Regions from separate parts of the Homo sapiens genome. Here regions 1, 3 and 4 are each linked to region 2. The links are contacts of gene promoters, found by promoter capture Hi-C in blood cells and fetal thymus (Javierre and others, 2016). All regions are on one chromosome and are shown on one strand. The core of a region is centred on a gene start or on the middle of the fragment in contact, and the rest is flanking DNA. Distances in the headings are between cores, read along the strand shown.

Region 1 (3,195 bases), core at 417-2,916, 270 kb after region 2:
CTTCTTTGGAAGTGCCGCTTGTTATTCTGAAGCACACTGTTCTCCAGGCAGTGGGTGGCTGTGGATATGTGCACACAGGGTGCTTCTGTTGTGCTCTCAAGGCCGGTCAGTGGCCTCTCTTCTAGTGACGTTTGACCAGCTTCTCTTGCCTGGGCCCTGTTATTTGACACAGGCCCCAAGGACTGGTCCATTTCTGCAGTTGGTTTGTTTTCTTGGCTGTCAAAGTCAAAATTGTTTCAAGAAGAGTAAATATCATGATAGAACTTTGTATTTCTCTTAAAAAGACATTGGCATTTATTTGTGTAAATTTTAAAAGCTTTAGCTTTTTTTGGTGAAAAATCAAATCTTGCTCTTTAAAACTGAAACTTAACAGCAGTTGAAGTGCAAACCAATGATCTTACCTCCCAAAGAGAGCACTTTCCTGTCTTTTTCTTTTTCACTGGGTTACTTCTCATTGTACTTTGTCACCAGGTCCCAGCTTTTTCTCTTTCTTTGATGAGCTGGTGACATTTCTTGGCCAGGCACAGTGGGGTCCTCTCTGGTGGGTGTGAGCCGCAGGGACCTGCCACTGCTGTCTCTGCCACCTCATTTGGAAGCTGTCCTGGGGGCTGGCTGGCAGGTTGCTGACAGTGGAAGGAGGTACTAGCTCTGGGGAGTGCTGGGAGAGAGTAACCACCAACTATAGCAGGCTTTATTTTATTTGTTTTTAAGTAGACTTTATTTTTAAGAGCAGTTTTAGGTTCACAGCAAAATTGAGCAGAAGGTACAGAGATTTTCTGAAAAAGAGTTTTTATTACGATTGGGTGTTGCATTTCGTCAAATACTTTTTCTGCACACATGCCATGCACAGCCTCCCACATGATCAACATCCCCCACCACAAGGGTAAGTTTGTTACAAGTGATGTACTCACATCAATACGTCAATAGTACTCGGAGTCTGTAGTTTACGGTAGGGTTCACTCTTGGTTTTATACATTCTATGGGTTTGGACAAATGCCATGTATCCACTGTTATGGTATCTTACAGGGTGTTTTCACTGCCCTGAAAATCCTCTTTGCTCTGCCTGTTCATTCCACCCTTTTCTTTTAACCCATGGCAACCACTGATCTTTTTGCCATCTCCATAGTTTTGCCTTTTCCAGAATGTTATGTAGCTGGACTCATACAGTATGTAGCCTTTTCAGATTGGCATCTTTCACTTAGTAGTATGCATTTATTTAAAATTCCTCCATGTCTTTCCATGGGTTGATAGCTCATTTCTTTTTAGCACTGAGTAATATTCCATTGTATGGATGTGCCACAGTTTAGTTACCTACTGAAGTACATCTTGGTTGCTGCTAAGTTTTGGCAGTTATGAATAAGGCTGGTATAAACATCTGTGGGCAGGTTTTTGTGTGGACCTAAGTTTTCAGCTCATTTGGGTAAATACCGAAAAGCATAATTGCTGGATTGTATGGTAAGAGTTAAGTTTTGTAAGAAACCACCAAGCGTTTCCAAAGTGGCTGTACCATTTGCCTTCCCATTAACAATTAGTGAGAGTTCCTGATGCTCCATGTCCTCGCCAGCATTTGGTGGTGTCAGTGTTTTGGATTTTGGCCCTTTTAATAGGTGTATAGTGGTGTCTCGTTGTTTTAATTTGCATTTCTCTGATGATATTTGATGTGGAATATCTTCATATGCCTACCTGCCATCTGTATATCTTCTTGGTGATGTGTCTGTTCAGGCCTTTTGCCCATTTTTGTAATTGGGTTGTTCATTTTCTTATTGTTGAGTTTTAAGAGTTGTTTGTGTATTTTGGATAATAGTTCTTTATCAGACATGTTGTTTGCCAATATTTTCTCCAGTCTGTGGCTTCTCATTCTTTTGACAGTATCTTCTGTAGAGCAAGAGTTTTTAATTTTAATGAAGTTTCACTTATTAATTATTTCTTCATGTATCTCACCTTGGTTTTATATCTAAAAATTCATCATCATACCCTAGGTGTTATATCTAAAAATTCATCATCATACCTAGATTTTCTCCTATGTTCTAGGAATTTGTTTTGTATTTTATATTTAGGTCTATGATCCATTTTGAATTCCATTTTTGTGAAGGGTATAAGGTTTGTGTCTAGATTTATTTGTTTGCATGTGGATGCAAACAAATTTGTTCCAGCACCATTTGTGGAAAACACTGTCTTTTCTCCATTATGCATTGCCTTTACTCCTTTGTCAAAAGATCAGTTGATTGTATTTATGTGGGTCTGTCTCTGGGCTAAAAATTTTATCTGTTCTATTGATTTATTTTTCTATTCTTTTGCTAATACCACATTGTCTTGATTACTGTAGCTTTATAGAGAATCTTGAAGTTGAGTAGTTTCAGTCCTCTGACTTTATTCTTTTCCTTCAATATTGTATTGGATATTTTGAGTCTTCGCCCTCTCCATATGAACTTTAGGATTCATTTGTCTGTATCTACAAAATAACTTGCTGGGATTTTGATTGGGATTGCATTGAATCTATAGATTAAGGTTGGGAAAAACTGACATCTTGACAATATTGAGTATTCCTGTCCATGAACATGGAATATCTCTCCATTTATTTAGTTCTTTGATTTCTTTCATCAGAATATTCTAGTTTTCCTCATATAGACCTCGTGTATATTATATTATATTTATACCTAAGTATGCCAATCTTTTGGATGCTAATGTACATAGTATTGTGTTTTCAATTCCAAATTCCATTTGTTCATTGTTAGTATAAAGGAAGGTGAGTCAATATCTTGCAATATCCTGCAACCATGCTATAATTGCTTGGTTCCAGGAGGGTTTTTTGTTGTTGTTGATTCTTTCAGATTTTCTATCTAGACAATTATGTCACTTGCAAACAAAGAAAGTTTTATTTCTTTCTTCTCAATCTGTATACCTTTTGTTTCCTTTTCATGTCTTACTGCATTAGCTAGGTCTTCAAGTATGATACTGAAAAGGAGTGGTGATAGGGGCATCTTTGCCTTGTTCTTGATCTTAGCAGGAAAGCTTCTAGTTTGTCATCCATAAGTATGATGTTATATGTAGATTTTTTTATAGATATTCTTGATCAAGTTAAGAAAGTTTCCCCTCTACTCCCAGCTTGCTGAGAGTTTTTAATCATGAATGGGTGTTGGATGTTACTAGATGTTTTTTTCTGTATCTGTTGATATGATCATGTGATTATTCTTG
Region 2 (2,925 bases), core at 228-2,727:
AAAATATTCTAAAATACCATCCATAAAGCAAGTGCTCACTGCCTAGATGTACACTGCAAGTAAAATCTTTGCCAAGTGGCTTCAGGTCTGGAAGTGTGTCTTTTCCTCACCAGTTCTCCCTCTACGTTAGTGTAGTAGAAAGACAATTCTCCATGGTCAAGAGTTTAAAAGCAAACGACAACAACAAAAAACTGGCAACAGGGGGCTGTGCAAGACTACCATGTACCTATCAAACTGAAAACTACCATCCTATCCATTGACCTGCAAAGCTGTTTATCAGTGAAAAAGTTACAAATGTTTACGAATGAAACAGAAAATCTAAAAAACTGTATGTGCATTATACTTTTTAAAAATGTGTATGTATATTTAGGAATACCAAAAACACAGCAAGAACACAGGCCCATAGTAAACATGGTTAAGAGTAACGGGGACAATCAGTGACTTTGTTTCACTACTCAAACAAATTTTTGCAAGATATAAAAAGTAACAATTAGTAAGATGATCTCTGTCAACTTCAACCCAAGCAAATTTCTCCAAGGGAGGTGTGGGAACCTCTAAGACAGAGCCTTCTTCGAGGGCTCCATCTCCATCTCTGAGCTTCGTACCCCTCCCTGCGTGAAGCAGGCATCTTCAGTGATTTTCTTCTAAGCAGCGTACACAAAAAAAAGTCTCACAATTCCCTGCAGATTACCGAGCTCACCCCATTCCAACCCACAAGGCTGCCCAGGCCTGGTTCCAGTCCCATTTTCTCCCACAGGCTGCTGCAGGAAAACAAAGAGTGGCTGGAGGCAGGGGCGGGGAGCACCGGCTCTGCAGCCAGCGCGGAAGCGCACGGCCAGAAAGAGACCGGGAACGTCCGCCAGGCTCCCGGGCTCAGCATCATCTGCGGGGGACGGCGGACCCCGCCAGGCGCGGGCTCCCAGTGGGGCGGACCCGTGGCCGCGGCCCTGCGCAGGGGACGCCCGGGCCCCGCCGACTGCGGCTTCCAGGCGACTCCCCAGTCGGCTGTGCCTGGCCGCCGGCCGGCTAGGGGCGCAGGTAACGCCCGACGGGCCGCCCCGCAGAGACCCCCGCTGGCGCGGCTCCGGGACCGGCGCCCTCTCAGCGGGCACGGGCGCACAGGGCGGGGCAGCGCCTCACCTTGGGGTCGCGCTCGTAGTAGTGCTGCTGCGTGCGGATCCAGCGGCCCACGAGGTGGTCGCGCACCGTGTGCGCCAGCGCGAAGAAGTAGTCGCGGGGCGTGGCCACATTGCGGTCCTTGACCAGCGTGAAGTGCAAGTGCCGGTTGAAGCTCTTCCGCACCTCGGCCACGTCGCCTAGCCCCGCCAGGCCGCGCACGCTGATCTGCTTCCGCTTCTCGCTGTCCGTCAGCGGCTTCGCCATCGCGCCGGCGGAGGCGGAGGAAAAGAGATGGAGGAGGAAAGCGGCGGCACACGCGAACGCCGGGATGGTGCAGCTGCTCTGGCGCCGCTGCTCTGGCGCCCGGCACTGCGGCTCTGCGGGCGGGATGGACCGCGCCTGCGCGCCGCGCCGGGGCGGGGCCTCGGGGGGCGGGGCGGGGCCTCGGGAGGGCGGGGCGGGCGTCCAGGCTCATAGCTGAGATCTCTGGTGTAGTCCGAGGCGGCAGCGACCTGTCCACGCCACCTGAGCGTGGTGTTTGCCCCCTCGTTGGGCAAGCCCGGCAGAAAGTGGGAGCGACTGGAGGGGGCAAGGGACCCGGGGCCTCGGAGCGTGCCGTCGTGGCCGCTCCTGCCAGCCCGGGGACGGTGCGGGAAGGGGGCCCTGCCCTCCGGCCCTCGGGTTCCTGGGACCGGCCCTCCCGCCCTGCACCGGGTCACCAGGTGCCCCGCGGGAGCGCGCTGGGCTCGGGCTGTGGCCGAGACCTGGTACACGTTCGGGGAAACTGATTACAGCTTGAAAGGCATCCACCAACGCCTGCTGGGCCCGGTCTTCTCTGTCCGGGGCAGGGCGGCTCTGAAAATACCAGCTATTTGCTTGCCACTCCAGGCCGATGACAGACGTGGAGAAAACCAGCTGCCAGCGAGCTGGAGACGCCCGTTCCCGAGGGCGCGAGGCAGCCACAGCCAAATGCCACCACGACCCCGCCTCGGAGGGACCGCAGCCCCCTAGCCCTCGGAGAAACCCTGTTCCCGAAACCACCTGGCAGACGCTGTCCGCTTTGAGATTACAGCAGGGAGAAGGAAACATGCCCGTCTGGCCGGGGAGCTCAGCCACTAACCGAGACTTAGCCTCTGTCATCCCAATCCAGGCTGCAGCTCCAGATAGGGGGCGTCTGCACACAGCTTCCCACACTTGGCCCCGCGGAACACAGTCCTGCTGGCCTCAGCCTGTGGGAACCCTGCTTCATGTAAAGGTCACCTAAACTCTGCCTTCCCTCAACCCCTTCAAACTCTGCCTTTCCCTTCGTTCTTGGGAGGCGCTCCCTCATTGCAGTGGGTCAGTACACCCGATTTTGTGGACCACAGGTTTGCTCCTGGTGGTCTTGGGCTGAAGGGGCTGCAAAGGTTACTGAATTTCGTGGAGGTAAAAATTGCCCGCAGGAAATGTCATGAAAGTCCAGGTGCAGTAGGTTTCCTGGTGTGATGCTTCAAAGTTATCTTCTTACCTGGAGCCCCTTCCAGCTGCAGACTTCAGAGGTCGGAGGTTAATCAATCTGGAATGACCCCACAGCCCACCCAGCTCCAGCTCGGGATTCACTCCTGCACTATGTCCTAGGGATTCTGGAGCCAACAAGATCGAACTTCGGGCACAGATGGCAGGGCTGTGGGGTCGAGCTTGGCTGCAAGCTCCGAACACTGATGCAATCTCTCTGAGGGTGATCTGGCAATTCAGAAGTCATAAAAATGATAGTGCCCTATGACCACTTCTACCACTCTGGGGAATTGAGTTCAAGGAAAGCTTAAG
Region 3 (2,945 bases), core at 24-2,523, 290 kb after region 2:
TACCTCCTGTTCTCCCGGATCCTCAGTCGTGCGGGAGTCTGGGAGGCCTGGCTTCCTCAGGGGTGAGGTTTGGGGCGCTGCGTTAGAGACGTGGTGACGGTGTTTTTCACAGTCCTGGGAGGGAGTGGGCTGGGGAAGAGAGGGCACATCTGAGAGAAGGGCCTGCTGCTTTACCTGCTTCAAGGTGTGGTTGGTTTGGAAGTCACAGTCATCCAGACGCAGGTGCTGGTTTTTCTTGCAGGTAGTTCTGCCAATTTCCACCTCCAGCATATATTTCAGGCCTTTCACTATCTGGAGGGAGCAAAGGGACTGGGTTACTGGGCACAGGGGAGGGAGGGCAGGCTTCTCCACTAGGAAGCAGGGCCTCAAGACAGTGGTGCAGGTGCCCACCGAGGAGAAGGGAAGTGGGCCAGCATCTTGGGGCAATGCTTCGGGCTTACGGCAGAGCCTGCAGACCCCTCCCACTCCCCTCCCTGCCCCGTGCTGGGTTTGTGCCCCTTCCTGAGACAGATGTCTCCTTTCTGGCCAGAGCTCTGCACTCAGGAGGGACGTCACACTAGGTCTCCTGCATGCCCTGCTGGGCCCGCCCTGCAGCCCTCACTCCAGCCCCATGATGGCTGTTTCTTGTGGCCTCTGTGTCAGGCCTGGGGTCTGCGGGCTTCCCCTCTCCATTCCTGGGGTCGGGAGTTTTGAGTTTCTGGACAGCCCTTCTCCACTTGGATATGGCAGCCGCCTTGTTCATTCTCATTTGTGGTCTTAGAGGAGTTGAAGAAAAATTCCTCAGGTTTTAGTCTCAGCTTTAGGGGAATTACGTTGTCCCCAATATCACCAAGCTAGAGAGAGACAACCTCCAAGTCCCCTCCCAGAGAACCCCAAGGACTCAGAACCAGGGCATCCCACTGGCCTACCCGGAGAAGGAGGGAGGGCCTGCATCACCCAGGGAAGATCCCCTGTCCCTGAGGCCAGGCTGCAGAGCGAGGACCCTGGCTACACACCCACGATTCTCATATGAAAACATGCTGTCCTTCACAAGTTTGCAATTGTCAAAAATAATTAGGTTATAAAAATCACCCCTCCCTGTGACCCAGCATAACCATGAACACTGTGAAGACTGCCTTGGACAGGGCTGCTTCTGCCCCTTACAGGCACCAGCACACGGTGGTGGGTGTCATCCACAGCCTGCATCCCACATTAGCAAGTGGGTGTTCTCAGGACACAGACAAGGGTCCTCTAGGAGGGAGGGTGCTGAGCGGGCGCAGTAGGAATGAGTCAGGGAAAGGGCAGTGGCTTGGGCAGAGCTCTTGGACTCTGGGATGTGAGTGAGCACTCCAGGGGGAAAGTGGCAAAGACACCTCTGGGCTGCAGGGCACGTGAGGGGTGAGGCCGGGTGAGGACCCTGGTCCCAGCAGGGGCAGCTCCTCGGACAGCGGCTTTCTCCCCCATCAGCCTTGGCGCCTGCCTCAGGAGCCCCATTAGGGCCCTGGCACCTCCTTACCCCATGCCTAGTAGGCTCTGGGCCAGGGGCCTGGTAACCACCCAGGAGCCGTGTGCTTTGTGTAACCTTTGCGCTTGGCCCTGGGGGATGCTGGCCTCAGCTGCTGCTGTCCACTCCCACCCCTTGTGCATCTGCTTTCTGCTCAGAGCTCTGCACTCAGCAGGGACTTCACATTATATCCGCCCTGCTCTCCTAGGTGTCGCGTTGTAGCAGCTCGGCTTCCTAGGGGTGTCCGTGATATGTGACCAGAACCCAGACCGTTACCTGAACTAGGGCCCTTGTGATGCGGGACTCCTTGAACAAGAACATGTCGTTCGTGCAGTTGTTGAACTTTTCAACACTGTATCTGGCTGCTTGGAGGACTCCTGGGTCATTGGTCTTTATTGTTTTAGGAAATCCTGGCTTCACACGTGAGTTAAGGTCCTGGGAACAAGTATCTGAAAGAGACAAAGAGCCAGACAAGAACACTGATGTTAGTGGGGCCTTCAGTCCAGGTGTCACGCCTCATGCCTCTGTGATGCTCAGTTCTCTGCTGGCGTGTGTGTCCTGGCCCTACCCACCCCTCACCTGCTCCCCCTCTTACCTACCCCTGTCACCTGTCCCTGCTTACCTGCCCCCACCCTACCCACCCCTAACCTGCCCCCCTCACCTGCCCCCTCACCTGTTCTCCCTCACCTGCCCCCTCTCACCTGCTCCCCTCACCTGCCCCCCTCACCTGCCCCCTCACCTGTCCCCCCCGACACCCCTGCAGTGCATTTATTGCTCCATTTTCAGAGCTGAGGACCAGGTGCCAGGGGGTGCAATGAACCTGTCCCCCACTTTCAGAACCCAGGGTTATTTCCAACGTAAGTGTTAAAAGCGGAACATGTCCCACAGGTGAGATCCTCAGTACGGGATGTAGCCTTAGGATGTAGGGAAAGTCAACCCCAGCCTGGCCCTCTGGGCGGTAGATGGAGGTAGTGCCTCCCACCGGAAGGAGATGGCGCCGTCCTCGTCTCAAGACCTTTTGCCCGCCTGGCTCTCAGTCTCAGGCCCAGCCCCCAGGAGGGCACCCCTCCTGGCAGCCTGCAGCACTTGGTACCCCTGCGCTGCCTCCTGACTTTCCAGGGACAGTCTTTTTCACTCCTATGAGTGACAGTGCACTGTGTCCCCAAGCTTCGTTGGGGTCGGGGAGGCCTGCCCTTCCTGTACCAAGGAGGGCTATATTTGGATAAAAGATGGGGAAGCAGCATCGGGGGCCTCCCCCACAGTCATGTCCCCTAGTATCTGTGCCTGAGGCTGCAGGACGTGCGTCTTTGTGCCTGCTATGGACTGGATGGAAAGCTGGGCCCCAGGGTGTTGAGGGCAGGGTGATTGGGGAATGGGAGGGGACAGGCTTCATAGCTGGGCACTGCAGGGAGGCCTTGCCAGGACGTCAGTGTCAACTCAGAGCGAGGGCCCCAGAGGAGGC
Region 4 (2,872 bases), core at 20-2,519, 440 kb before region 2:
ATTATTTTAGCCAATTTTTTGGTAAGCATAGAATTAGCAATATGATTAATGCTTTTTCTGTAAACTAGTGTTATGAAAAATCTCAAATGGGTAGCAAAATTGGGAGATGGTAATAGGAATCCCCATGTTGCCTTCATCCAGATTTGATCATTTTAAAACCATGGGTAGTTCTGTTAGATTTATCCCTTCCCCCTGTTTATGTGCCAAAGTATTTCAAACAAATCCAGATGTCTTGTTATTTTACCCATATATACTTGATCTCTGAGAGGATTTTTAATCAGTGTTGAGGTGTAACTTGCATACCGTAAGAAGCACTGCTTTTAACTGTATAATGAGTTTTGACTCTTTAAAGTATACACAGGTCACTTATCACCTCAATCAAGATACAGAACATTTCAACAAGAGTTCTCATGTGCCCTTACATGTAATCATTCCAGAGGAAAATAGTCAAGAATTCTCACCAAAATATGGACAAGTAGTATCCAGCAATACATGAAAAGGATGATATATTCTAGCCAAATAGAGTTTGTTCCCAAAAAACCGAGGATAGAGTGAACATAGAGTAAGCAACCTGTGGAGATATTTAACTTTTTTTTTTTCTTGATGCGGAGTCTTGCTCTGTTGCCCAGGCTGGAGTGCAGTGGCACGGTCTCCGCTCACTGCAAGCTCTGCCTCCCACGTTCACACCATTCTCCTGCCTCAGACTCCTGAGTAGCTGGGACTACAGGCGCTCGCCACCACACCCGACTAATTTTTTTTTTTTTTTTTTTTGTGACGGAGTCTCACTCTTGCTCAGGCTGGAGCGCAGTGGCGCGATCTCGGCTCACTGCAAGCTCTGCCTCCCGGGTTCACGCCATTCTCCTGCCTCAGCCTCCCGAGTAGCTGGGACTACAGGCGCCGCCACCACTCCCGGCTATTTTTTGTATTTTTTTGTATTTTCAGTAGAGACGGGTTTCACGGTGTTAGCCAGGACGGTCTCAATCTCCTGACCACGAGGAGGAGGCCCGCCTCAGCCTCCCAAAGTGCTAGGATTACAGGCGTGAGCCACCGCGCCCGGCAGAGATACTTACCCTTACTTAACCTATCTGTAGTTCTCCGCTTAGGAACAAAAGGAAAGGTAGCTTCTTGGATGAATCAGCTTTCAGCTTAATATTTTTCTTTTGGCAGAGTGGTTTGGGTTCCAACGTTTTTATTTTCCTTTCACTGCTTTCAGGGAGCAAAAGAGAAAAACCTACATTACTATCTTAATGCAGAAAAATACTTGATAACATTTCACACCTATTCAGGGTAAAAATTCTCAGTAAATGAGGAATAGAAAGAATTTCCCTTAATGAAACAAAGGTTATGTGTGACAGCCTGGCTGCAATCATCATATTTAATGGTGAAGTGTGTTCACACTAAGATCAGGAACAAGCATTAATGTTGATTCTTATCACTCTTATTTAGCATTATCCTAGAATAACTAGCTAACCTGTTAAGGTATTAAAAAGGAATAAAAGGCATAAACGTTGAAACAGAAAAAAAAATTTTTTATTCACAGAAGATGTGAGTATGTACATGGAAGAATAGTTAAACAACTAGATACTAGTAACACACAGTTTAGGAACTTCAGAAAATAAGGTCAGTATTTTTAAAAAGCACTTGTATTTCTGTAACCTAGCAGCAAACAGTTAAAAAATGAAATACATATTTATACTACCATCAAAAACAACATATTTAAACTTCTAAGAGTAAATGTAGGGGAATATCTTTGTGACTTTGGAATAGGTAAAGATAGCACAGATGGGACATGAAAGGTAAACTATTTATGTAAGTATATAGAAAGAAATAACAAAAATGTTTTAAATCACCTTTCAACTGCCGTCAGAGGAAGAAATTTCACTGTTTTTCTTCTCCAACTACATGTAAACCAAAAAGTATCAGAGTCAAGTACCAATTTAGATGTTTATTTTGCCACAGTTGAGGACATGCCACAGAAAGAGGCCAGTGGCTTTCCCCAAAGATGAGTTTGAGAGCCTCATTGTTTAAAAAGGAAAAGTAGGCTGGAGGGGAAAGAGGAAAGGTGTGGTAATCCACCTGTGACAAGAGAAAAGGAGCAGGTAGGAAAATAGTTATGCATTCATCTCACACTCAGTAAATCAGCACTTTACATAAGATACGGTGTGCATAGAGTAGCTACTATGGAGATATTTAACGTTTTATCTGTAGCTATCTCCTTAAGAACAAAAGGAAAGGCAGCTTCTTGCATGACTTAGCTTTCAGCTTAATGTTTTTCCTTTTGGCAGAGTGGACTGGGGTCCCTAGTTTTATTTTCTTTTCATAACACCATAGTATTTGTTCACTTCTGTCTCAAAGTTACTGGCTAGTGGATGTATGCTGTGTTCATCATAATCACCACATGATAGCATCTTTGTTCCTTCACATTTCCTTCTTTTCACCCCTATATGTCTGTGTTTTTAATTTTATTTTTTTAGTCAAAACATTCACTTAAAAGTATAGTGAATACTCTAATGAAATCATTACACCCACCACTTTAATTTACAGTTCTTTTCCTGTATTTCTACTGGAATTTTTTTCAAAAAATTCGGAGAAAATAATATAATGAACCCAGTACACATTATTCAGTTCTAAAAATTATGAAGTGTGGCCAGTAATGCTCAATTGACTTTTGAGGGTGAGAAGGGGTGTTTAAGCACATCCAGACATCATTTTCACTCATGAATGTTCCAAAAGTTTGTATACAAGGAAGGGCTCATGTTTTTAAAACCCAAAATACTTTTATAACAACAAAATTAATGTTTGATAATCTAATATCCAATTAGTGTTCAGATTTCACTGGCTGTTAATACTCCTCACATATTCTTTGTTGCAA

What was found. Contacts are between HindIII fragments. The CHiCAGO score rates a contact against its expected background, and 5 or more counts as called.
Region 1: a fragment that was not itself captured here is called in contact with the fragment with the promoter of PYGB in region 2 in 6 of 17 cell types (monocytes, neutrophils, M2 macrophages and 3 more); the score reaches 9.1 in monocytes.
Region 3: a contact is called between a fragment that was not itself captured here and the fragment with the promoter of PYGB in region 2, in 1 of 17 cell types (neutrophils). The highest score is 5.6, in neutrophils.
Region 4: a contact is called between a fragment that was not itself captured here and the fragment with the promoter of PYGB in region 2, in 1 of 17 cell types (monocytes). The highest score is 6.8, in monocytes.

Annotation. Positions count from the first base shown.
Region 1 is chr20:24,974,915-24,978,109 of GRCh38, reverse strand. The region is part of intron 3 of APMAP (adipocyte plasma membrane associated protein); the gene reads left to right. Among named protein-coding and RNA genes, the nearest start is that of APMAP, 16 kb to the left of the region's middle. The HindIII fragment of the contact is 2,696 bases long and covers 319-3,014 here.
Region 2 is chr20:25,246,637-25,249,561 of GRCh38, reverse strand. PYGB (glycogen phosphorylase B) reads right to left here and starts at 1,477. Exons shown (of 20, transcript NM_002862.4): 1 at 1,141-1,477. The coding sequence starts at 1,383. RefSeq lists silencers at 834-1,213, 1,524-1,713, 1,724-1,913, 2,094-2,173, 2,192-2,445 and an enhancer at 1,364-1,443. The HindIII fragment of the contact is 3,937 bases long and covers 1-2,921 here.
Region 3 is chr20:24,956,274-24,959,218 of GRCh38, reverse strand. CST7 (cystatin F) reads right to left here. Exons shown (of 4, transcript NM_003650.4): 2 at 1,760-1,932; 3 at 175-291. Among named protein-coding and RNA genes, the nearest start is that of CST7, 8.5 kb to the right of the region's middle. The HindIII fragment of the contact is 2,759 bases long and covers 1-2,652 here.
Region 4 is chr20:25,687,034-25,689,905 of GRCh38, reverse strand. The region is part of intron 1 of ZNF337 (zinc finger protein 337); the gene reads left to right. Among named protein-coding and RNA genes, the nearest start is that of ZNF337, 8.4 kb to the left of the region's middle. The HindIII fragment of the contact is 4,376 bases long and covers 1-2,872 here.